2 separate regions of the Homo sapiens genome follow, and region 1 is linked to region 2. Evidence: promoter capture Hi-C in 16 types of primary human blood cells and fetal thymus (Javierre and others, 2016). All regions are on one chromosome and are shown on one strand. The core of a region is centred on a gene start or on the middle of the fragment in contact, and the rest is flanking DNA. Distances in the headings are between cores, read along the strand shown. Region 1 has its middle 8.5 kb from the start of ALG13. Region 2 holds the start of LHFPL1 (LHFPL tetraspan subfamily member 1).

Region 1 (2,700 bases), core at 106-2,605, 1.0 Mb after region 2:
TCATACCCAACATCTTTCAGCCAGCCGATTGACCTATGAGATACTATTTTCTTTTTCTCCCAATTTAGCCATTGCCCACTGCAATCTATTAAAACCCTTTTATCATCTCCAGTGGAAGACATCCTGTGACTGTGTCAGTTTTACAGATACCCTCCTTTTACCCAGCATATACCCAAAGGAAATGCCTCTGCCCAATCTGGACTTTGTCTAGTACACTGATGGGTCTTCTCTCAAGAGCCCTGCTGGCTCTTACCTCGCAAGATACGCCATAGTTTCCCCAGCAGAGACTATTGAATAGGACCCCCTTCCCACGGTCTGGTCAGCTTAACAAGCAGAATTGCATGCCTTCACATGAGCCTGTTTGCTGGCTGGAGGCAAAACAACTAACATTTTATACAGATGGTAGATTCGTCTTTGGTGTTGCACATAATTTCGTATGCCCTGGAAACAATGAGGTTTTTTGACCTCCTCCAGACAACCTATTAAAAATAAAGATTTTTGTTTTGACACTTCTAAAAGCTATTCAGGCTCTATTATCTCTTGCTATTATCAAGATCCAAGGATACTCCCCTGAAAACTCTGAAGACAGTAAGGGCAATCATCTTGCTGATGCAGCTGCTGAAGCTACAGCCCTACAAGTAACTCCCTTGATCATGCTCATTCAATCCTCAGCCCCCATGCTTGCCCATTTGATTACCATTTTTCTAGACTTTTCACATCTCAGAAAGCAGTTTCATATCTTGAAAGGGGGAAATGGATGAAACAAAGTTGCACATTTAACTCCCAAACAAGATTATGAGAAGGGACAAATAGACATCCAATCCTCCCTAGCAGTCTACAGACACAAACAGACCTTTATACATAACCTAATTCACTACAATCTGGATACAGTGAATAAATGGGTCAGACAATACTTCGGAGAAATTTCCCCAACAGTTGCTTTTTAGGTATACAAACTTTGTAGCCTCTGTCCCCAATATACTCCAGGTGAACCCCTAAAATGTCCTTCAGGCCAAGTATCACTTCCCAATGGCCTTTTTGCAGAATGGCAGCTTGACTTCATCCAATTACCCCCATCTCATGGATACAAAAATGTCCTTATAATGGTTGACATGTATTTCCATTGCGTTGAAGCTTTCTCCTGCAGACAGACTACGGCCATGTCAGTAGCCAAAGTACTCCTTGAAAAGATCATTCCTCTTGGGGAATTCCAACTGAGCTATATAGTAACCAAGGAACTCATTTAACTGGCCAAGTATTAGCAAAAATTTGGAACATTTAGCCCATTCTGCAGCATTTTCATTATGCATACCACTCCAGTCTTTTGGGCTGGTTAAATAGATAAATGGGGTTATAAAAACCCAATTTGTGAAGATCCCAAGTACTTTTAACCTGCCCTGGCATAAGGCCCTCCCATTGGCATTGCTAGTTTTACAATCCACACCTAGTAGGAAACACTGTCTCTCCCCTTTTGAGATCGTTGCCGGTCTGCTCATGCACCTGGTTGAAGAAACGTTTTCCCTGCTCGGTTACAGGGAGACTTCCTAACCTACTACCAATGCCTTGTCAAAGCTTTAAAGACTAACCGCCACAAGGTTGTGGAATCCTTTTACAGGCCCAAATCAGATAGTGACCTCTGGCATCGCAGCCTCCAGCCTAGTGATTATGTACGTTGGTAGAGACATCAATTGAAAGATTACCTTCAGCCTTGTTGGAAGAAGCACTCTTTTCAGGTACTGTTAATCAATCTCTGTGCTGCCAAGTTACAGTGTATTGACTCTTGGATACATATATCTCACCTAAAAATGGCACCAACTCCTGGAGAATCTTGGACATAAATGCCAGTGTTTAATACCAAATTCAGATTACTAAAACCCCATCTCCAGGCCAAGAAGACAACATCTAAGGTTGACAGCTAACCCAGGACACCAGACCAGGACTGTATGAGTAATATGCTCAGCCCTTACATTTACTTTATTTCTGCCTTGATTGTCATAGCTTTGGGAATTCTCTGTATTTTAGACATTTTTTTTGACATGTTAAAATTTAAAATAGTTCCTAGACAGGGCAGTTCCAGACGAACATCCTGTTTGCGCCTCTGAGCTAAGGCAGTTCCTGTAACCAGTAATTGGAGCTGAGACACAGTGGCAGGAAAACTCCCACCAGCAGCCTGAAAGGAGCATCCAACAGAGACTTCTGGTTCTGGCTTGAAAACTACCCATCTGGGACTCAGAAGTTTTCAACGAATTCGGGCTGAAAGAGTTTGAATTCTTCATTTGCACATATGGACCTGATCGAGGGCTGGGGTGGGAACTTTCCCAATAGCATGCTTTCAGTTTACAACAGAGGCTGTGATTGTTTTTTTAGAAAATAAAACTCTTCGGCCAGGCGCAGTGGCTCACTCCTGCAATCCCAGCACTTTGAGAGGCCAAGGCAGGTGGGTCACATGAGGTCGGGAGTTCGAGACCAGCCTGACCAACATGGACAAACCCCGTTTCTACTAAAAACACAAAATTAGCTGGGCATGGTGGTGCATGCCTGTAATCCCAGCTACTCGGGAGGGTGAGGCAGGAGAATCGCTTGAACCCGGGAGGTAGAGGTTGCGGTGAGCCAAGATTGCACCACTGCACTCCAGCCTGGGCAACAAGAGTGAAACTCTGTCTCAAAAAAAAAAAAAAAAAAAAAAAAAGAGGAAAGAAA
Region 2 (2,700 bases), core at 172-2,671:
GCCTAACATTTCTTTTTACATAATCCTATGTCTGAAGCAATGGTTCTTAAGGGAATGACAGCTGGGAGGTTATAAAACTTAGTTGGGGGGCTTACACTGCCAAAAGTCTAACATTCCACCTAAGGAGTCATCTGTGCTTCCCCCAGAAACATGATGGCCTCAGTAAGCCATGATTACAGATGGGAATGGATTTATCACTGTGTTGTAGAACAAAACGGTAAAAATTGCTGATGGAAAGTTGCTAGATAGACAAATACATGCATGAATATAGGATCATATCACTGATAAAAGGCAGGACACAGGTGGTATACACAGAAGGCAGGAGAAACTTTGTAAGTTCATTAAATAATCACGGTACAATTAATATGTTAATTTACGGTCATATTTTGAATTATTGCCACAACATGCTAGAAAATAGGCCTAATCACCTTTGTAGCATTCTGGTGAGGGAACTGGGCCATCAGAGAAGCATGGATACTTTGGATCAGTCCAGTGTGCTCTGTTAATGTAACCATTCTTCCTTCTAAATCATTTGGATTTGTTCAGCAAAGTTCCCCATTCACAGGCCATCTAGGAGGGGAAAAGAGACATGTACGAAAATAATAATAATAATAATGATACTAGGTAGAAGATAATAAGTTTCCCCAAATATGAAGTGTCAGGGACATTCACAGGTGGGAAATATGACATCGGGTTGGAGTAGAACATCAGGCAAAGCTCCATTCATCTCCAGACCACTCAGCTCTTTTCCCAAGCAGAGTAGCAGTTATTAGTGCACTGGGATAAATTAAACACTGACTTTTGATTGTATTATTACTATAAAAATATATTAGTTATTCCTTTCAATGTATGATTTCCACAAATTCTGAAATGTAAGCTCATTACATCTTGGAGCCAAAGATTGCTCTGCTGGAGCATCTTCCCCATCAGGCAATGGAAATCAGTTTGGGGAGAAGAGGTTGTTCTGTCTTATTCTATTTAGGCATGTGTTCTCTCAGTCACTTCTAGCCACATGGGTCTGCTACCTACCATGGTAGAGATTATCTAGGGCATTGGAGGAAAATTAGAGAAAATCTCTGTTCCTCAGCAGGCTTTTGGGCAGCAAGTGAGGAAGTAAGATAACGCAGTTCAAGCGCGGGCATGCCTGCGCGCATGCGCGCGCGCTCGCGCGGACACACATACACACACACGCGCGCGCGCGCGCGCGCGCGCACACACACACACACACACACAGAGCTGCTTTGTCCGCTGTGAGGTTGGAGGTTTGGGGACTCTGTGCCCACTAAGCTACTTTCTATTTCAAGTGCCTGTATGTCTGAGGCTGGGTTTGAAGCCTCCAGCGTGTTTGGAGTTAATCCCCATTAGGTTGGACTCCGCCCCTTTCTCCCAAAGGTAAAGCAAGGTTTTCAGGCATCACTGCAAAGGGCAGCTAGTATTCCCATCCTTGTCTAACAAGCTGTAAGGAGAAGTTGTTTCTGAGATCTGAGCCTGAAGAGAGGGAACAAGTCAGTCAGCCTTCGTGGTCAGAAGGTAAATATGCAACTTGGGCCAAATGCAATTCAAACAGCTGGATAAGAAACTGCTTTGCTCTCCCCTTGCTCAGCCCCCCCTTCTCCCCTTCCTTTCTCAGGTTTCCTGTCCTTTCATCTCAAAGCTCAGAGAAGCCGTTTTCTACCCGAGGGCAGCCTGGTGCTTTTTTATTTCTTCATAGTCCGTTGTTTGCACAGAGGCTAAGATGAATCAGGGCTGGATTCCTATTTCATATTGACAAGATTTGAGGACCTAAGGGTTAAGTGCTAGTTGGTTTCCCCAGGGGAGTTGGTAACCTGAGGAGATGAAGTGCCTGTTTCTGGGAGTGGAGAGAGTGATTTTGTTATGACCTGTCTATACAAGTAAAAATGGATCCGGTTTGCTAATGTGGTAGGTTGATCTCCTGGATTTGCCTAAATCTAAGGGGTTATGCGACGGAAATGGGGTAATGAAGTTAAACTGAAATGCAAATATTGAGGCCTCTCAGGCTGGAAATAAAAGAATGCATCCATTTGGTAAATATTTATGAGTTCCTACTATGTGCCAAGGCATGACAATTTCCAGAAGAACCTGAAATACTTAAACTATAAATCCATTCTTGCAAAGAACACTTGGCCAAGTGGTTTCATTTTGTGGTGGGGAACTGAAAATAGAATGAAGCCTAGGGGTGAGGAAAAATCACCCATGGAGTGGTTGTGGGGAGAGAAAGGGGAAAGGAGAGATGTTCTAAATCTTAGGTGGTTTCAAGTCTTTTCCATTACTTATGAGAGAATAGGGTCTTTTCTGGTAGAAAGGGAGAGAATTGATACCTACTCTGGTGTTAGGTATAGTGCAGATGTTTCACTTGAATTTTATGCTTAATCATTTCCATTTTATAAATGAAACCAAAACTCAGAGGTTTTAAGTGATCTTTTTATGTGCATATAGCCTGTAAGGGGCAGACCTCAGGACTCTGTCTCTGATCTGATTCCAAAATTGTGACTTTTCCACTAAAACAGTATTCCTCAATCATTAGTTCCCATTAGAATAAATTGAGGATTTTTAACAATATGAATTCCCATAAATTCGAATTCAGTGAATCAAGGAGGGGGTGACATAGTCTGCATTTTGAACAAGCATTGAAAGTGATTCTGAACAAGCATTGAAAGTGATTCTGTTGAGACAAACATT

What was found. Contacts are between HindIII fragments. The CHiCAGO score rates a contact against its expected background, and 5 or more counts as called.
Region 1: a fragment that was not itself captured here is called in contact with the fragment with the promoter of LHFPL1 in region 2 in 1 of 17 cell types (non-activated CD4 T cells); the score reaches 7.1 in non-activated CD4 T cells.

Annotation. Positions count from the first base shown.
Region 1 is chrX:111,671,362-111,674,061 of GRCh38, reverse strand. No RefSeq gene overlaps it. Among named protein-coding and RNA genes, the nearest start is that of ALG13, 8.5 kb to the left of the region's middle. The HindIII fragment of the contact is 438 bases long and covers 1,137-1,574 here.
Region 2 is chrX:112,678,659-112,681,358 of GRCh38, reverse strand. LHFPL1 (LHFPL tetraspan subfamily member 1) reads left to right here and starts at 1,421. Exons shown (of 4, transcript NM_178175.4): 1 at 1,421-1,530. The HindIII fragment of the contact is 5,630 bases long and covers 1-2,700 here.